Linked DNA regions of Homo sapiens: all the other regions are linked to region 1. The links are contacts of gene promoters, found by promoter capture Hi-C in blood cells and fetal thymus (Javierre and others, 2016). All regions are on one chromosome and are shown on one strand. The core of a region is centred on a gene start or on the middle of the fragment in contact, and the rest is flanking DNA. Distances in the headings are between cores, read along the strand shown. Region 1 holds the start of NPAS2-AS1 (NPAS2 antisense RNA 1). Region 2 has its middle 18 kb from the start of PDCL3. Region 3 has its middle 33 kb from the start of LINC01849. Region 4 holds the start of LOC107985814 (a long non-coding RNA gene). Region 5 overlaps LINC01868 (long intergenic non-protein coding RNA 1868). Region 6 has its middle 11 kb from the start of LINC01868. Region 7 has its middle 31 kb from the start of LINC01868.

The links. The method cuts DNA at HindIII sites, captures the fragments that hold promoters and counts their contacts. A CHiCAGO score of 5 or more calls a contact.
Region 2: a contact is called between a fragment that was not itself captured here and the fragment with the promoter of NPAS2-AS1 in region 1, in 5 of 17 cell types (total CD4 T cells, naive CD4 T cells, non-activated CD4 T cells and 2 more). The highest score is 10.6, in total CD4 T cells.
Region 3: a fragment that was not itself captured here is called in contact with the fragment with the promoter of NPAS2-AS1 in region 1 in 3 of 17 cell types (naive CD4 T cells, total CD4 T cells and naive CD8 T cells); the score reaches 7.5 in naive CD4 T cells.
Region 4: a contact is called between a fragment that was not itself captured here and the fragment with the promoter of NPAS2-AS1 in region 1, in 8 of 17 cell types (naive CD4 T cells, non-activated CD4 T cells, total CD4 T cells and 5 more). The highest score is 11.0, in naive CD4 T cells.
Region 5: a fragment that was not itself captured here is called in contact with the fragment with the promoter of NPAS2-AS1 in region 1 in 7 of 17 cell types (M1 macrophages, non-activated CD4 T cells, naive CD4 T cells and 4 more); the score reaches 7.1 in M1 macrophages.
Region 6: a fragment that was not itself captured here is called in contact with the fragment with the promoter of NPAS2-AS1 in region 1 in 7 of 17 cell types (M1 macrophages, endothelial precursors, naive CD4 T cells and 4 more); the score reaches 10.2 in M1 macrophages.
Region 7: a fragment that was not itself captured here is called in contact with the fragment with the promoter of NPAS2-AS1 in region 1 in 3 of 17 cell types (M1 macrophages, M2 macrophages and M0 macrophages); the score reaches 7.9 in M1 macrophages.

Annotation. Positions count from the first base shown.
Region 1 is chr2:100,975,818-100,978,520 of GRCh38, reverse strand. It overlaps NPAS2-AS1 (NPAS2 antisense RNA 1), which reads left to right and starts at 1,360. Exons shown (of 3, transcript NR_110213.1): 1 at 1,360-1,805. It overlaps NPAS2 (neuronal PAS domain protein 2), which reads right to left. Exons shown (of 21, transcript NM_002518.4): 15 at 722-811. The HindIII fragment of the contact is 3,647 bases long and covers 1-1,857 here.
Region 2 is chr2:100,543,620-100,546,322 of GRCh38, reverse strand. No RefSeq gene overlaps it. Among named protein-coding and RNA genes, the nearest start is that of PDCL3, 18 kb to the left of the region's middle. The HindIII fragment of the contact is 1,179 bases long and covers 774-1,952 here.
Region 3 is chr2:100,635,031-100,637,733 of GRCh38, reverse strand. No RefSeq gene overlaps it. Among named protein-coding and RNA genes, the nearest start is that of LINC01849, 33 kb to the right of the region's middle. The HindIII fragment of the contact is 6,239 bases long and covers 1-2,703 here.
Region 4 is chr2:100,653,205-100,655,907 of GRCh38, reverse strand. LOC107985814 (a long non-coding RNA gene) reads left to right here and starts at 2,583. Exons shown (of 4, transcript XR_001739199.1): 1 at 2,583-2,703. The HindIII fragment of the contact is 8,143 bases long and covers 1-2,703 here.
Region 5 is chr2:100,671,195-100,673,897 of GRCh38, reverse strand. The region is part of intron 2 of LINC01868 (long intergenic non-protein coding RNA 1868); the gene reads left to right. Among named protein-coding and RNA genes, the nearest start is that of LINC01868, 7.4 kb to the left of the region's middle. The HindIII fragment of the contact is 7,321 bases long and covers 1-2,703 here.
Region 6 is chr2:100,690,049-100,692,751 of GRCh38, reverse strand. No RefSeq gene overlaps it. Among named protein-coding and RNA genes, the nearest start is that of LINC01868, 11 kb to the right of the region's middle. The HindIII fragment of the contact is 2,208 bases long and covers 271-2,478 here.
Region 7 is chr2:100,709,400-100,712,102 of GRCh38, reverse strand. No RefSeq gene overlaps it. Among named protein-coding and RNA genes, the nearest start is that of LINC01868, 31 kb to the right of the region's middle. The HindIII fragment of the contact is 6,246 bases long and covers 1-2,703 here.

The sequences.
Region 1 (2,703 bases), core at 111-2,610:
AAACAAATGTGATATTTATAGTGCTGGACTCACGGCTTTTAGATCCTTTCAGTCTTTCTATGACATGCAGCCCAATTCAGACCTTTTCTAAAATACCATGGCCAATTTGGAGTCGTAAAGAACAAGAGGAATGTGGAAAAGTGGCAAAGAGGTGAACAGAGACTGTTAAAAGAATTAAAAAAACAGACTCTGGACTTCTGCAGCAACTTGGATGGAGCTGGAGGTCATTATTCTAAATGAAGCAACTCAGAAATGGAAAACCAAATATCGTATGTTTTCACTTCTAAGTGGGAGCTAAACTATGAGGTCACAAAGGCATAAGAATGAAATGATGGACTTTGGGACTGGTGGGGCAAGGGTGGGGGGATGTGAGGCATAAAGGACTACATATTGGGTACAGTGTACACTGCTCGGGTGACAGGTACACAAATCTCAGAAATCACCCCTAAAGAACTTATCCATACAATCAAACACCACCTGTTCCCTCAAAACTACTGAAATTTAAAAAAAGAAAACCCCAGACACTGGAAAAAAGAACTTGGAGACGAGAGGGTGGGTGTGGGGGGAACCTCATGGCTCGACACAGGCCACACACACATTGGGAGGGACATTCCCCCACGTCAGGGCCTTGGTTGGGACCTAAGTGTACAAGACCATCAGCGCAGCACACTGCGGACTTCTGGCTTGAGAGGGGCTGCCCTTTCCTGGGTCCCAGACTCACCTGTGCCATGGGAGCGGGCGTGCTCTGCAGAACGGTCTGAGGCAGGAGCTGCTGTGTGAGGTCGCAGGACGATGGGGAAGGCAGAGGGGCCTGTGGGAGAGAAAGGGGCTTTGTTACCACTGCTTCTGCCATTCCAGGGGACAGGGATGTGGTCTCTTGGTCCGGTGGGTTCTCTGCGTTCCGCACTGGGGTGAACAGCTCCAAGTCAAGAGTTCTAGAAAGTATAGGTGTCTGTTCCCTGGCTGCACTGCTTCCTACGCAGGGCACAAGGGCAGAGCCCCTGCACAACTGGTGCAGGCTTCCACCCCACCACAGTGTGCTCTGCCAGGCTGCTGCTACCTGCCCAAGCCTGGTAGCTCAGCTCTACTTCCCTTCCCTTGCCTGCTGTCCTGGACTCCGCCCTGGGTGGATTTGGTTGCTCTCCTCCCAAATGGATTAATTCTTAGCGGTGTCATCAAGCAGGACGACGTGCGTGGACTGCTACCATGAGCTGCTGTGCGTCCGTATCTTTTCTGCTCAGCGCTAATGCAGATGGACAGACACGCCATGCATGTTTGTCCATGAACTCATCCAGGCAGTGAGGACTGGGGCAGTTTCACCAGCCTCTGCCCAGAACCTTTTAAGAGACTCCTGGGAAGTGAGCTGAGTCACATCTGCGCTCCCTGATCACTCGGGTGGGTGGGGGAGACAATGTATAGTAACAAGAAATGAAACACTCTGCTTCACGGGCTAGTGGTTTTCTAGTGGTTTTTTTTTTTTTTAAAGAACAGTGAAAGGACTCGTCTGAAGTTATTCCGACACGGCCCCTAGTTGCTAGGGCCTATATAAAAAAGCAGCTCAAATGGAAAGTGTCACCCAGGACAGCATTGGGAGGAAATGACACCAGGAGACCTTGTTTCAGTGAGAAATCCCAGGCACAGGGCTGATCCAGAAGCTGGTCTGGGTTCTGTTTCCCTGCGCAGCTGGGAGGAGACAGAAGCACTCTGGGCCTCCGTTGTTGGCAAAGTGAGTCACACTGGACAGGAGAGTCTGGAAGAATGGCAGGCACAGCTTGCAAGCGCATCTGGAGGTGGCTGGAGAGAAAGTAAGTGGTCTTTGCCACATTCTACTTGAAAATAAAACGCATCGCCCAAGCTTCTCAAGCAGGGTGTGCACAGCCTTTATGGAGACAGCAAGCAGGAAGGTGGCACGTTCACTCCATCTCCAAAGTGACAGTGAAGTGTGGGTGGGAGGGGTTTGGCAACTATCTGGAGGTGGCCCCTAAAATTCCTGGGTACTTCTCCCGTCTAGAAGTGGAGGTCTATATCCCTCTTCATGGGTGAGCTCAGGGCTGCTTTGACCAAGAGGTATGGCAGTGGTGATACTATATGACTTCCGTGGCTAGGTCACAGAGGTCTGCATGGTTCCTGCCTGCGTCTCCAGGTGTCTCCTCTTGGAACCTGGAGTCCACCACCATGCCAGGAGAAGCCTAAGGCTTGAGAGGCCCATGCAAGTCAATGACGGATGGCCTCAGCTGAGCCCAGCCCTCAGCCACCCAGCCCGGCTGCTGGACATTCATGTGCAGACACCATCTGGTGGGTGCATTCCATAGCCTAGGCCCACGAGATCCCCGACACCAAGGAGCAGAGAAGTGCCATCCCCATGATGCCCTTTCTGAATTCCTGACCCAGACTCCATGAACTTCATACATGTGGTTGCTTTAGGCCACTAAGTTAGGTGTAGTTTGCTACCTGGCAATAGATGACCAGAGTGGTGCATGCCAGTGACTTTACATATAGCCAGGGCCATACATCCCGATGTTCTGGAAGGATCTGGCACATGTTGGGGACGCTACCTGATATGTGCAGAGGTACATTTTTGTTGACACTGAGCTGCTCAAATATTTTCACCAGCATGAAAGGGGATTCAAAACAGAAGAATCCTAATTGTGTAGCCCCAGGGGCTCTGGGGGTATGAGGGTATGACCCCGGGTTTGCAGTTTT
Region 2 (2,703 bases), core at 114-2,613, 430 kb after region 1:
GAAAAAAAAAAAAAAAAAAAAAAGGGGAAAACACTAGCATGGGGGTGAGCCTTAAATTGATAAAGCATCTGAGAAAAAAAAACTTCTAGGAGGGGTGTGGGGGCTCACGCCCATAATCCCAGCACTTTGGGAGGCTGAGGCAGGAGGATTGCTTGAACCCAGGAGTTCAAGACTGGCTCAGAAAACAAAGTGAGACCCCGTGTCTACAAAAAATAAAAAAAATTAGCCAGGGTACATGGGAGGCTGAGGTGGGAGGATTGCTTGAGCCTAGGAGGTCGAGGCTACAGTGAGCTGTAATCACACCACTGCACTCCAGCCTGGATGTCAGAGTGAAACCCTGTCTCAAAAAAAAAAAAAAAAAAAAAGGAAAAGAATAAAGAAAATAACTTTTATGTAAGGAAGGCAATTCCTTTTAATAATCAGGCCCAGAGAGACATTGAATTGAGAAAGCAATCACGCTGTACTCCCCGCTTTGAGCTATGTATTGATCAACTGCTTGCTATTGCCACATTAGACACGATAATCCACATTCTATGGCTTAACAATGTATAGCCAATCAATAGGCAATGTTATTTCTGTAAACAAATGAGAATTCCTGACAAACAGCTTTGTATCAGTCCACTCCCTGCCCCCAAGTTTTGCCTTTAAAAATCCCCTTGTAACTGCTACAAATTTGAGCGCATATTCAGGACAACTTTAATCTATGATCTGGGGTTGCAGTCCTCAAGCCTGGCCCAAATAAACTGCCTGCTTATGTTAATTTTGCCTAAGCTTTTTCCTTTCAGGTTGACATACCTGCATTGGAGATGGCCATGTGGGCCATGAGAGAGATAATCTTCAGGTTTGAAGTCTTCCAACTTCTAAAAGTTGATTGAGAGAAAACAGGTGTTTATCTTTCTCATGGAATATTTGATGAGTAAGCTGCAATTTCTCTCCTTGAATTCAAATGAGTTTATGAGGCAGGTTTGTTGGACTTGAATGTAAGCATTTGTCAATATCGATTCCTGCACTGATGACCTAACACCGCCCATGTATTCTTACCTGATTCTCACTGCATCTCTAAGAGGTAGGTAGGGATTTTTCATATTCTGAGGAAAAAGAAATTATCAGAATTTAAGTAAATGCAAAGTTACACAGCTAGAAAATGAAGGGATACGTTTTAAAAAAACCCTTGCTCTTTTCTCTCCAACAGCTGAGAAAACAGGGACCGGAGCCAACGTGGATCTACAGTGTTTGTTGATACTGTACTGGGAAGGATGCAGACTTCTAGTGAGGAAAGAGAAGAAATCACAGTTTGGAGTAGAATCCCCAATTATAAACTATCTCGGTGGCTCCCAACTATTTTGATATGATAAAGTCTCTCTAAAATAGAATTCTGGCCGGGCATGGTGGCTCAAGCCCATAATCCCAGCACTTGGGGAGGCCAAAGGCAGGCAGATCACTTGAGGTCAGGAGTTCGAGACCAGCCTGGCTAACATGGTGAAACCCCATCTCTACTAAAAATACAAAAATTAACTGGGCTGTGGTGGTCATCTGTAATCTCAGCTACTCAGGAGGCTGAGTCAGGAGAATCGCCTGAACCCAGGAGGCGGAGGTTGCAGTGAGACAAGATCGTGCCACTGCACTCCAGCCTGGGTGACAGAGTGAGAGTCTGTCTAAAAAAAAAAAATTGAATTGTACCATTCCACTGGCATGGAAAAGGTATGCCTGAGATGTCAAATCACCAGAAGTTACCATGACCTGATTACCACACCTAAAGGAACCTGATTTTTAATGGGTCTATGTCATATGTACTTCACATACTTGACATATGTGTGAAGACAATGTTTGGCAGCTGCTGCCCAGTTCTTCTCGGTTTCCTTTCAAAGTCTCTGCAGTGCCCTTATCCACACCCACACAGATCGAGGTCTGCATCTCACAGGCTATAAACCTTCAGGACAGAGATGGAAGCTTGGGGGAAATGAAATGTTAAGTGGTTAGGGTAGAAAAATAGGAACTGTGGGGTTTTAGGGAGCCGATGTGGCACAAAACCCCAGAAAGCCTTTGAGCCTCTTCAGCCATCACCATGCCTCACCCTCCCTGCCCACCAAGCTCACTGGTGCTGACACCCAAGGCTTTGTGAGGGAGTCAGGCATTCTTATTGTTTATCACACTTGTAGAGTTGGCACACAGTTAGACATGAGCAGGAAAGGGAGCCCCTGGGGGAGGAAGCTCCAGAGACCACCTGAAACCTGCATGCTAAATATGAGCACAGGGGAAGATACCTATGCAGAAAGGAATGTCCCAAACACCCCATCAGATGCCCAGTCGCTGCTCATTCTGCTGGTAAACTGTCAGAATGTAGCTAGCTGTATGCTGATAGGAAGGGAAAAAGGAAAAAGGGGGAATTCCTAAGAGATACACAGGCACAATAGGTACAGATTTGACTGCTGTAGACCTTCCTGGTGTGGTGGTCTCGAGCAAGGCTACCATTAGGTAGGATTTGTATTGATCACCATGCCTCATGCATGCACGTCAACTGACCAGAAGGAGGAATCCCACAAACCTGGGCAGGGACTTAAGACAGGAACAGGAAACTAGACAAAGACAAAGACAGAGACTTAAGACAGAAGTAGGCACTTAAATAAACAGTCCAACATAATAAAAACCACAACACAAGGCTCTCAGGGCTGCTCTGGGTCAGCCTGCCCCTCTCATGATGTG
Region 3 (2,703 bases), core at 66-2,565, 340 kb after region 1:
GGGAAAGCCCTTCTACCCACTCAGGCAGCATCATCAGGGACCAATGGGATATCCAGAAGCACCAGAGAAACCTAGCAGACCAAAGGCTCTGGAAATCAAACTAACATTAGAACCAGAGTCCATAAGGTAAGGCGAGATGCATGTGCTAAACCTAAATAGGGTACCTGACTGCTAATATGAAATATTTATATAGGACCCAGACTCTCCTGACATAACAGACAAGATATCCAAGATATAATTAAAAACTCACCATTTATGCCAAGAACCAAAATAAAAAATCTCGACTCAAAGGAGCAAAGACAGGCAGCTGACACCAACACCAAGATGAATCAGATGTTGAGATTATCTGACAAGGATTTTAAAGTAGCATCATAAAATGCTTCAAGTTATAAATTCTCTTAAAATGAAAATTAAAAATCTGAGAAAAGATAGAAGTTATAAAAAAGTACCGGATGAAAATGAAGACCTGGAAAAATACAATAACAGAGATTTTTAAACTTACTGTATGAACTCAATAGTAGACTGAAGATGAGAGAGGATATACGTGAACTTGAAGACAAAAAAAATGGAATTCACTCAATCTGAAAAACAATGAGAAAATTGACTGAAAAAAAGACCAGAGACTCAGAGACCTTTGAGACAATAAGAGAAGATCCAAGATTCCTATCATTGGAGTTCCAGACGTGAGCCACTGTGCCCAGCCCCTCAAATAATTTTAAAGAATTGAAATCATGTAGTGTGATACCCAGTCATAATGGAATCAAACAAGAAATCAATAATAGAAAAACAACAGGAAAATAACAAGCAAGGAGTAATTGAACAACATACTTATAAATAATCTGTGGGTTGAAAGAAAGCCTACAAGGAAAATTTTAAAGATACGCAGAACTGAATGAAATGAAAATACAACCTATGAAAATTTGTGGAATGCAGTTAAAGCAGTACTGTGAGGAAATTTTTGGCAATAATGTTATATTACACAAGAAGAATATCTGAAATTAATAATCTAAGTTCCTACTTCAAGAAACTAGAAAGAAAAGAGCAAAATAAAACCAATACAAGCAAAAGAAAGAAAATAAATATGAGTGGAAATCAATGAAATTGAGAATAGGAAAAGAAAATAATAGAGAAAATTGACAACAGAAACTGGTTCTTTAGAATCAATCAATAAAATTGATAAACCTCTAACAAGACTGACAAAAATATAATGAGAGGAGACACAAATCACCAATGTCGGGAATGAAATGAGATATATCACTATAGATTCTGCAACCATTTCAAACAAGGGACCACTATGACTAACATTAAACTCACATATTTGACAACTTAAAAGAAGTGGACTAATTCCTTGAAACAACAAACTACCAAGTCAACCAAGATGAAATTGACAGTCAGAATAACCCTATAACCATGAAGAAAATTAAATTAGTAAATGAAAAGCTCTTAAGATAGAAATCTCTAGGCTCACATGGTTTCACTGGAGAATTCTACCAAACATTTAAAGAAGAATTGACACCAATTTTACACGATCTCCTCCAGTAAGTAAAACAGGAGAGAACATTTAAAAACTCATTTTACGTGGTCAGTATTACCCTAATACAAACACCAGGAAAAGACAGTACAAAGAAGATTACAAACCGACAAGTCACAGGAAGTTAGATGTTGAATTCTCAACAAGATATCCACAAACTTCATCCAATAATGTATAAAAAGAATTATATACCATAAACAAGTGTGATTTCTATCAGATATGCAAGGCTATTTTGACATTCAAAAAATAATTGAAAGTTAGGCATCACATCAATAAGCTAAAGTAGAAATATCATATCATATCAATTGACACAAAAATAGCAATTGACAAAACTCTAATTTTATTCATAATAAAAATTTCAGCAAGTTAGGAATGGAAGGGAATTTTCTCAACTGATAAAGGGTACCTACAAAAAAAAATCCACAAAATCCTACTTAATGGGGAAAGACTGAATGCTTTCCTCCTAAGATCAAGAACAAGACAATGCCCATTCTTACCACCCTTATTCAACATAGTACTGGAAGTTATAACCAATGAAGTCTCAGTAAAGACAAGACATAAAATACATACACATAGAAAACAGAGCACTAAAACTATATTCATAGGAGATATGATTGTCTCTACAGAATATCCCCAGGAATCTATGAAAAAATGTTTAGAACTAATAAGTGAGTTCAGCAATGTCACAGGATACAAGATTAACAAAAATGAATTCCATTTCTATATACTAACTATAAAAATGTAAGAACTGCAATAAAAAATACAATACTATTTACAGTCACTCCTAAGAAGATGAATAGTTAGGTGTCCTTTTAACAAAACATGTACAAGATGTTTATATTGGAAATTATAAAATGTTGATGAAAGAAATTTTAAAAAGCCTAAATAAATGGAGAGGCATACTTACTGTGTTCTCAGATTGGAAAACTCAACATAATAAATATGTCAATTTTCCCTAAATTGATCTATAGGTTTAAAGCAATTGCTACCTAAATCCCAGGAAAGTTTTCTGTAGATATTGACAAACTTAGTCTAAAGTATGTATGGTAAAGTACAGGCTCTAGAATAGTTAAAACGATTCTGACAAATAAAAATAAAGTGAGAGGACTCATTCTGCCCATTATTAAGACCTCTATGTAACTATAGTAATCAAGATAGCATTGTATTACAGA
Region 4 (2,703 bases), core at 126-2,625, 320 kb after region 1:
CTCTAAGTTGCACAGCAATCTGAGCACGGTACCAGGGGCTGGAATTCGAAGCTGCTCTAAGAAACCAGCCAGCATTTCTTTCCTGAAGACACCATAGACCCATCTGCTTCACAGAGTAATGAGAAAACACGTGCGTTAATAAAGGCGAACATTTGCAACTTGCCTACTAGAGACAGCTGAAAGTAAACACTGAGTGGGGATGCTCCCTTATTGTTATCTACACCTTGCCAGGCCACTTAGGAGGATGCCAAGAGCCCGCAGTATTTCATCTCCAGCTCCAGCTTCATCAGAGCCAAGTCCTCATCACTCTATAGTCTTGCCAGCTGAGTGGGCAGTGCCAGCCCCTGCCGTGGGAGGGGGTGTCCAGTGCATGGTGCCCCTATTCCAAGGGGCACCCTCCAGAGCTGCTGTCCCTGCAGAGCTAGTGAGGGTAGCTCTGTTTCTGTTGAGGGCCTACTGGGGACCCCATCCCCTTTCCTCGGTGTGCTTTCGTCTGTTCCCAGAAGCACCATTCATCAGTCGTCCTCACTTTAATCTCCTTCTCCAGTTGACATATTTAAAATTAATGAGGAATTTGTTTTTATCCAACTCTCTCGTTAGGGCAGTGAGCCTATTTCTCCCTCTCAAATGAATCTTCTAGGTAAAATTATGAAAAAATATGTTTTTCTCTCCTACCCTGGCCCTACTTTTAATGTTTTTGGCAGCTCTGAACAGAGCCACTATATAAAAATCAGACATTTTATTGCTCAGTAATTAGCCCAAACTAGCCCAGACAGACAGTTTGCAGGTAGAGAGAAGAAGAGATGGATGAGGAAAGGGTGCCCAGGGATGCAGTAGGTGCTTGTGTGTAATGAGCTTTTGAACAATTTCCTTTGCTGGATTTCTGTGGGCAAAAGGTGTCCCTGAGTAGGCTGTGCCAAGTTATTTCCTGAAGATGTGAGCACTAAAAAGTATTTGTTTCCTCAATCTCATGGTGTTACGGTCTGAATGTGTGTGCCCTCCCCCGCAAATTCCTGTGTGGAAATCCTCACCCCCAAGGTGATGGTGTTCGGAGGTGGGGCTTTGGGAGGCAATTAGGTCATGAGGATGGAGCCCTCATGAATAGGATTAGTGCCCTTAGCAAAGAGACTGCAGAGCACTCTCTTGCTCTCTTTGCATCATGTAAAGGCACAAAGAAGCTGTGGCTGGATGCGGTGGCTCACACCTGTAATCCCAGCACTTTGAGAGGCCGAGATGGGCAGATCACCTGAGGTCGGGAGTTCAAGACCAGCCTGGCCAACATGGTGAAACCTCGTCTCTACTAAAAATACAAAAATTAGCCAGGCATGGTGGCATGTGCCTGTAATCCCAGCTACTCTGGAGGCTGAGGCAGGAGAATCGCTTGAACCCAGGAGGCAGAGGTTGCAGTGAGCTGAGCTGGTGCCACTGCACTCCAGCCTGGGCGACAGAGCAAGACTCCCTCTCAAATATAAAAAAAAAAGGGGGGGCCAGGCACGGTGGCTCACCCCTGTAATCCCAGCACTTTGGGAGGCCAAGGTGGGTGGATCACCTGAGGTCGGGAGTTCGAGATCAGCCTGACCAACATGGTGAAACTCTGTCTCTACTAAAAATACAAAATTAGCCGGGCGTCGTGGCGCATCTCTGTAATCCCAGCTACTCAGGAGGCTGAGGCAGGAGAATTGCTCAAACCTGGGAGGCGAAGGTTGCGGTGAGCCGAGATCGCACCATTGCACTGCAGCCAGGGCAACAAGAGCAAAACTCCCTCTCAAAAAAAAAAAAAAAAAAAAAAAAACCAGACAGAGAGAGAGAGAAGCTGTCAGTCTGCAACCCAGAAGAGGGCCCCCACCAGAACCCAACCATCTGCCACCCTGATCTTGGACATCCAGCCTCCAGAACTGTGAGAAATAAATTTCTGTTGTTTATAAGCCACTGTGGTATTCTGTTATAGCAACCCAAACTAAGATACATGATTTGAAATGACAGGTATGACTGCTTCCTGGTGTCTGTGCGAGGGGAGATCTCACCACAGGCAGGTAGGAGGGCCCTGGTGCAGGTCCCTGAACATGCAGTCTGGGCTTGCGTGGGGCCCTGCCCGTAGCATGCTCATAGCACCCAGCTCACAGACTGAAATGTTCTCTTTGTGGATCTCCCTCCCACAAGAGAAAGTGGTTTCCGTGAAGAAAGGGACTGCATCTTTCTTTGTAATGTGAGCTTTCTACTGTGCTTAGCACATAGCAGGTGCTCAGAAAGATGTGTTGAACTGAGCTGATGTAGGGTGAATACAGACACAGATCACACATGAAGCCAGGTGAGCCTTGGCCCAGGCATGCCCTCTGGGAGAGGCGGGGGATAAATGAGAGGATGCTGCCCCCTCTTTTTCTATCAAGAAAGCCTTCCTGGAGCAGATGCAGCTTGCCTCCGTTTGGGAGCGCTCTGGACACTTCTGTCCTTCTGCTGGACCACCACAGGACACCAAGCAGGCTTCCCTGTCCTCTGTCCTCCCTCCCACCTTCTTTTGTGCTAAGTCCTCCAATCGTCAAGGCCTGGTGTTCTATTGGTGACCACTCTCTCTGCTGGTTAAAAAGCCCATTCTCAGAAGGACTGTTCAGTGTGGCTGACCTTCACTCAGCAGGGTCTGTGACTCCCAGGTGTGAAGCCACTGGCGGAGTATCCAGGGGCCGAGGGCTGATGCATTTCTCCTCA
Region 5 (2,703 bases), core at 145-2,644, 300 kb after region 1:
CCTTTGCAGAACACCGTGACTGCTCTGGCCTGGCAGGCAGTTTTAGTACCATCCTGATGCCTGGGCAAGACGGGATCCTCCCTCAGCCCTGTGCCCCTGAGGGCCCCACTCCCCACTCCACAGGGTAAGAGGTCCAGGGCCCACTGGGATGTGTCCACCTAGAGTTTTTGCCTCACCTTCTAGACCAGGGTTTGCAAATGACTCCTGGGCCACTAGTTTCCATTCAGCTCATAAGCTAAGAATGGTTTTTATATTTTTAAATGGTTGTAAAAACATCAAAGGAAGAATGATATGTGAAAATTACATGGAATTTAAATTTTGGTGTCCATAAGTAAAGTTTTCCTGGAACATTGCCATGTTCATTTGTTTGCATAGCGTCTATGCTGTTTTCACCACAAAACGGCAGACTTGTGTAGTTACGACAGAGACCGTATGGCCTGCAAAGCCTGAAATATTTATCATGTGGTCATTTGTAGAAATACTTGCCAATCCGGGCCTAGACCATTCTTAGTGCACCTGGGACCCCAGCATTCCCTGCCCACAGGACCCCAAGCCCCTTCCATCACAGGACGGGTTTTCTTCTTGAGGATGGCCAAGGGGCAACTGTCTGTAGGGGACGTAGATGGAGCTTCCACAGTACTTGCCAGTCCCCTTGGTGTGTGAGAAATGGGGGTGAGAAGAGGAATGAGGTACACCTGGGCTGGAGCCTCAGAGCTGGCCATCTCTGACTACCTCGTTCTAGCACGGAGCCCTATGGAGTCCAAGAATTCAATGTTAAAATCTGGCCTTCTGGGTTTGTCGGGAGAGGAAGGCAGACTATATTTTGTTAGAGTTAACTTGATTTATTTTTATTTTATTTATTTATTTATTTATTTATTTATTTATTTATTTTTGAGACAGAGCCTCACTCTGTCACCCAGGCTGAAGTGCAGTGGCAGGATCTTGGCTCACTGCAACCTCTGCCTCTTGAGTTCAAGTGAGTCTCCTGCCTCAGCCTCCCGAGTAGCTGGGATTACAGGCATACGCCAGGTTAATTTTTGTATTTTTAGTAGAGACGGGGTTTCACCATGTTGACCAGGCAGGTCTCGAACTCCTGACCTCAAGTGATCCACCCGCCTCAGCCTCCCAAAGCACTGGGACCACAGGCATGAGCCACCGCACCTGGCCAAGTTAGCTTGATTTGTAATTTTCAAATGTTCAGCAGCATGGCATGTGGGCCTCCATTTGTGTTCTTGCCCTGGGGTTTCATGTGTTGGGGGATTCTCTAGACCACTCCCTTCTGGCCCCACCAGTTGAGGTGCTCTTCACCCAGAGTCACAGGGATTCCTCCCAAACCCACTCTGCCAGAGGTATGTGCTATCACACTTACACAATTTAACTCAGCACTTACAAATTAATGAAACATGAATGTGAAAATGACAGCTTTTTTGTTGAAAAGACCCAAGAAAGATGAGTCTCTAGAAATCAGTGGCATTGACATAGGTGTGGGCAGGACAAGTTTACATGTTTGGGAGAAAAATTGAATATTCATAGGACTCTTGCATCGTATATTCCTTTAAACCTTTGCTCTATTTTTAGAATCAAAACTGCAGAGCATAGCCTGTTTATACACTTGTAGTTTGTATAAGGAAGAAGACATAAAGTTCCCGCAGAAAGACAAGGCATAAGCCAGGGCCTTGACCCTACATCAAAAGATAGGCAAATCAGTGTGCATTTTTGCTTTTTACATGAAATAATTTTAATATCTTTATCATTGTTTATAATTCCCTACTTAATATTTTTGATTAACTCTTCAGTTAATAATTCCATAAGGACAGTTCTATAGACGATGCCATCTTATGCCATCATGGCGAACACAATTAAGCCCTATAGGGAACATTGTCCTGAAAGGTACCGAAGCTCTACAGGCATTATTTCATTTAATTCTCACAGGTCTCATGTGACAGATGCCCCTATAGCTCTCGAGCCATAGGTAATGCAACTATAAGTCGGGTGTGGTGGTGACGCACCTGTAGTCCCAGCAATTCTGGAGGCTGAAGTGGGAGGATGGCTTGAGCCCAGGAGTCCGAGGCTGCAGTGAGCCATGATAGCACCAATGCACTCCAGCCTAGGTGACAGGAGTGGAACCCTCTCTCTTAAAAAAAAAAAGAAAAAAACTAAAAGGTAATACAACTAAAACTCAGAGAGGGCAAGCCACTTGCCCAAAATCACACAGCTAGTAAGTGAGCAGAGACTTGAATGCAAGTTAGCCCTTACTCTGAACTCGTGAGCTTAACATCTGTGCCATCCTCCACATGGCAGGCCCAATACGTGCAGAAGAAATGAACAAATGAATGATAACCCCTAAGCAGCAGGTCTTGCTAACTGGATTGTGGTTCTCTGCGGGAGTCAGTGTGCTGGGTGGGAACAGACAAAGCTATAGGCAAGACATGGCACAAGAGCGTTGATTCTACCTGAGAGCAATCAATAGAAAACTTTTAAAATGTTTAAGTGAGGCCAGGCCCAGTGGCCCACTCCTGTAATCCCACCACTTTGGGAGGCCAAGGCAGGCAGATCACCTGAGGTCAGGAGTTCGAGACTAGCTTGGCCAAAAACGCTGTCTCTACTAAAAATACAAAAATTAGCCAGACATGGTGGGGCACACCTGTAATCCCAGCTACTCGTGAGGCTGAGGCTGGAGAATCACTTGAACCTGGGAGGCGG
Region 6 (2,703 bases), core at 125-2,624, 290 kb after region 1:
GGAAGAGGGGCGTGGATCTCCTTATCCTTCCTGGGAAGTTTCCAGGTTCTGCCTTTTGCATTATTTTCAGTCTATTCCCCCTCCCCCAGTTGGACATCACCCTGTTTTTATTTAAAGGGCCTTCACTAGTGTCAAGGCTGGGACAAGTCAAGGTGAAGGTCACAGTGAGTCACATCCTGGGGCTGCACCTTTCTTGTCCAGCCTCTTTAGACTTGCTTTGCAGATAAGGCAAGAGAAACACATGTATGGCTCAGGTTTTACAGCCAAGCTTCTTGCTTGCTTTTTAATGCTTAGCGTGGCGAGGTGGTTAAGAGCAGCAACTCAAGCTGGTTTGACAGGGTTCAACTCCGATTTGATCACGGGTTTGCTGTAGGGCCTTGAGCAAGCCACTTCCAACTCCCTGGGCTTCCATGTCCTTGCCACAGACAGGCGAGGAGGGCAGATATGGTGACTCTCCCTATTTTATTAATGGAACAGAGGCTCAAAATGTCACTTGTGCTGCCCCCAGAGTCACAAAGTTATAGATGGAGTAGCAGAAATTAAATCTAGCCTTGCTGAGCCTGAGCTATTCTGGCTGGCATTCTGAAGAATGCCCCGAGAAGGTCTTGGTCTTGCATGGAAGATGAGGACCCTGAAAAGTCAAGTCGTTGGCCTGAGGTCACAATGGCAGCTGGTGGTGGAGCTAGGCCAAGCTCAGGTCCCATGGCAACCAGTGTGGTGTTCTTTATGAAAAGGACATTGTCTCCCCAAGGGGCTGTGGGTCTGGAGAGGTTGCTGGATTGTGAGTTTATTAGGGGAAAGGTTGGCATGGGGGAGAGTTGAGGATTCTAGTGAGCCCACGCCCCAGGAGGGTAGATGCCCAAGGGGTCTAGGAGGCTTCTAGTGTCATGGTCCAGCACTTGGGCTCTGGTGTCAGATAACTGAGTCCAAATCCTCCTTGCACTTCTGCTTCCCAGCTGTGTGACTTTGAACAAATTACTAGACTTTTCTGACCCTCACACTACCCACCTGTGAAGTGGATATATACAAAGTACTTAATACAGAGCTCAGCATCTGGTTAGCTCTTCTGTTTAGTTGAAGTCAATCCACAATCACGTACTGGGGACCTGCTGTGTATTAGAGCCCTTGTTAGGTAACAAAGACTCAGTGGACAGGACAGACATGGTCACTGCTCTCATGGAAAGTGGCTAGGAAGCTGGGTGGGGAACACTGGCAGTAAGTAGGTAGCTATGAGCATGGTGAGCATTACAACAGAGAAAGTGGTAGATGCTGTGGATTTTATGGGACTGGACCTTCCTCCAAGTCTGGGGGTCAGGGCAGTCTTCCCTGAGGCAGTCAGAGGGGAGAGTTGAAGGAAGAGTTACACTTGGTATTGGGAGGGGGCCTGGCCCTTGAGTAGCAGCAGCAGCCCCTCCAGGCAGAACCAGGCACCGGGGGCTACATTTAGCAGAGGCCATGGAGGATGGTGGTCCCCAGCAGCAGTGATTGGTGCAGCAGTGGTTTCTGTCCTCAGTCTCCTGACAGCCCCCATCAATGAGGTGCATATTCCACTCCTGGCAAAGCTCCCAATTTGCAAGTTTTCTGTCATTGTCCACAAAGCAAAGGATTTTTCATTTATTTGAGATAAATAGCTGCTCCAAGTGACGTAACAGACCCAGTTGGCACTACCCTGAGTGGAAAATGTAGCTCAAGACTTCCCTTGTTTGTGTGTTTCTTGGAGGCAGGTTGACTGCTCTCTTGTCTTTAAAAAGACTCTTTAGAGAGCTTATTGTCTAAGAGAGGGGCGTGTAGGCAACCACCCAGGAAGTTCTGTGGGGGCATTCCAGGGATATTTGTGTGTGTGTGTGTGTGAGAGAGAGAGAGAGAGAGAGAGAGAGAGAGACAGAGAGAGAGACAGAGAAAGAGAGAGAGAGAAACCAATGTAACATCCCTACATCCTTGCCCCCGGCCCCCATCATGCCTGGTCACAGGGATGACCTACTTTAATTATTGGAGGGTATGGAACCAAAAGGGATCCCAGAGGCAAATAGCTCTTTAATGGTAGTTGCAGCTAAAAATGAAAGCAACCCTCAGTTCTGGCAGGGACAGACACCCAGTTATTTACAAGACACTCCATTGAACCTGGTCCACCTCCCCTCTAGACCTGGCACAGAGATTGCCTGATGGCTCTAGACTGCAGTCTGATGAAAGAGAAGGAGGCCCCAAAGACCCAGGTTTTGAAGGGGATTCAAGAATTAAGAGAGGACTCCCTCTCTCTGTGCCTCAGTTTCATCATCTGTAAAAAATAGAACAGTATCTATCACAATGAGTTGGTATGAAGATGAAATGAGTCAATACAACTAAAGTGCTTAGAAGAGTGCGTGGCACATAGTGAGCGCTTGATAAATGCTATTGTTAGTTTGTTGTCATTATCATTTTGCTGTAGTCGTTATGCCAACCTTTACCCTCTCCCCTCTTTGCCATTAACACTATCAAGCTTACAGGCATAAGGAGGGGGGTCAGTGGCTTTCATCTGAGCAAGTGCAGCCCGAAAAGGCCTATCCAGGTGGAAGGATCCCACAGACTGAGCCTCCTTGGGGTCTGTAATGACAACACCTTGTAGCCTGTAACTAGCTCTAAGCCCAGAACAGAAGCTAAGACATTTGCACCCTCAAAACACATCCTTGAGCTCAGAGCTCAGAGACCCTACTGGGTCTGGGTAGG
Region 7 (2,703 bases), core at 68-2,567, 270 kb after region 1:
TTCAATCCAGTCAGGTTGACACTCAGTATTAACCATCGCACCAGGCAAGCGCAAACCAAAAGCTAGCAAGTGTCGCCAGTTTGCCTTCAAAGAGGAAGAAATTCAGGGCCAAAGAACATTAAATGAGACAAACAAGGGAGCATTCTAATGCTAAAAGACACAACGCACAGAAAAGATGAAATAGCTAATAAGCGTCTGTGTGCAAAAGCACATAGCATCAATATTCATAAGGCAGAAATTACAGAGGATATGAGGAGAAATAGAAACACACTTGTAGTAGAAAACTTTTCAAAGCTATTAATTCATGTCAGATCAAATAACAGAAATAAGTAGAAAGTAAGAACATTGATCTGGTTGATATATGTCAAAAATCTATATCCTGAAAATGGAAAGTTTACCTTCTTTACGAAGGTCAGTGAAACATTCATGAACTCTGACTACATAAATGTACATAATAAAATTTCAACAAATTATCAAAAGTAGAAATAGTACAAGCAAATCCCCTAATCATAATAGGATTAAACTAGACATTGATAACAAAGAACTAGAAAAAGATTCTTCCATCTGAAATGTTTTTAAAAGAAAAAACTCTTAACTTTACGTTAACAAAGACATTTTAGAAAACAGCAATTGCAAAACTGTATAACAGAACCTGTGGGTATAGCTGCAGCAGTGCTCAAAGGAAAAGGCATATCCTTAAATATTTATGTTAATGAGGACAGAAAGAAAAAACAAATTATTTTAAACATCTAACTCAAGTTTTTAAAGCCCTGGTTGTTTTTAAACCCAATCTTCAGGCCGGGCATGGTGGCTCACTCCTGTGATCCCAGCACTTCGGGAGGCCGAGGTGGGCGGATCACCCGAGGTCAGGCATTTGAGACCAGCCTGGCTAACATGGTGAAACCCCCGTCTCTACCAAAACAAACAAACAAACACATTAGCCAGGTGTGGTTGCTGCACCTGTAGTTCCAGCTACTTGGGAGGCTGAGGCAGGAGGATTGTTTTTTGTTTTTTGTTTTTTTTTTTGAGACGGAATCTTGCACTGTCGCCCAGGCTGGAGTGCAGTGCGGTGCAGTGCAGAGGCGCGATCTTGGCTCACTGCAACCTCTGCCTCCTGAGTTCACGCCATAGGAGAATCGTTTGAACCTGGCAGGTGGAGGTTGCAGTGAGCCAAGAAATGAAGCAACCTGGGCGAAAAGGGCAAAAGTCTGTCTCAAAAAATAAAAAATAAATAAATTAATTAACCCAATCTTCAACCATAGTGTGTTATCTTAAAATAAATCCATGGTGGTATAATTGGTGTACAACTAACTGCTCGTACTTAAAATGCACGGTTTTGTGAGTTGCGACTTGTGTAGCCACCTGTGAAACCATCACCACAGTCAAGATAACGGACGTATTCATCACCCTCTCCAAAATTTTCTCAGGTGCTTTTGTAATCCTTTCCTCTTGCCTCTCCCAGTCCTGTCCCCAGTCACTGATCAGCTTCTTGTCAATATAGATTGGTTTGCATGTTCTAGAATTCTAAACAAATAATAAAATATATATTGTTTTTGTCCAGCTTCTTTCACTCAGCACAATGACTTTGAGATTCACTGAAATTTTTACAGTTGTAATAATATGATGTCTGGGATGTACATCGAAATTATTAGGAGGAGGGAATGCATGAGTGGAAGTCAAGATGAACGAAGGTTGGCTGTAAATTGATGAGTATTGAAGCTAGACCATGGACAGAAGAGATTCATTATACTATTCTGTCTACTTACATAAGTGTTTCGAATTTTCCATTAAGGAAATGTTTTAAAAAATACTTTTGCTACACCTTGCCACTTTTATGCTATTTTATGTCACACTGCTATATGGTTTGTCTTGAATTTTTATTTCTTGCTGTTATTCAAAATAATCATCCTTGATTTTCCTCTTTGAGGCTTTAAAATCCACTTTTTTTTCCTTGCAGGACCTCAGAAAAGTGGATCAATGTTACTAAAAACAAAACAAAACCAGTCCTCCATTTCAATGTCCCAAACCCTTCTGGCACCAGGGACTGGTTTCATGGAAGACAATTGTTCCATGGATGAGGAGGCAAAGGTGTCAAATGCATTTATTTTGCATAACTCTCTAAACAGTTTCCATCAAGGACTATCAGTGTTCTCCATAGTATTAGTAGTAATAGGATATATATATATATATAAAGTTTAACCTAAGCAAAATTTCTAAAACAAGAGTTTTTTCATTTTAAAAATGAAACTGTTCCATCTCACATCATCAGGCACTGATTAGATTCTAATAAGGAGCGCACAACCTAGATTCCTTGAATGCACAGTTCACAATACAGTTTATGCCCCTATAAGAATCTAATGCCACTGCTGATCTGACACGAGACAGAGCTCAGGAGGTAATGTGAGCTCACCCACTCATCACCTCCTGCTGTGCGGCTCAGTTCCTAGCAGGCCATAGACCTATACTGGTCCACGGTCTGGGAATTGGGAACCCCTGCTCTATTGAAGTTTTTTAAGCACCAGGTGCTAGAAATCATGAGTACCTCTGCCCAAGGGAGGAAATGTTTCAGCAGACTGGATATTTTCTGTCCTATAGACAATGGCATGTAAGATCTGCACCTGATGGCAAAGGCTTCTCTGAAGTGGACATATTTGCAGGGAACTGAGGCACCTCCTTGCAAACTTGGTAGTCTTGTTTCTCAGG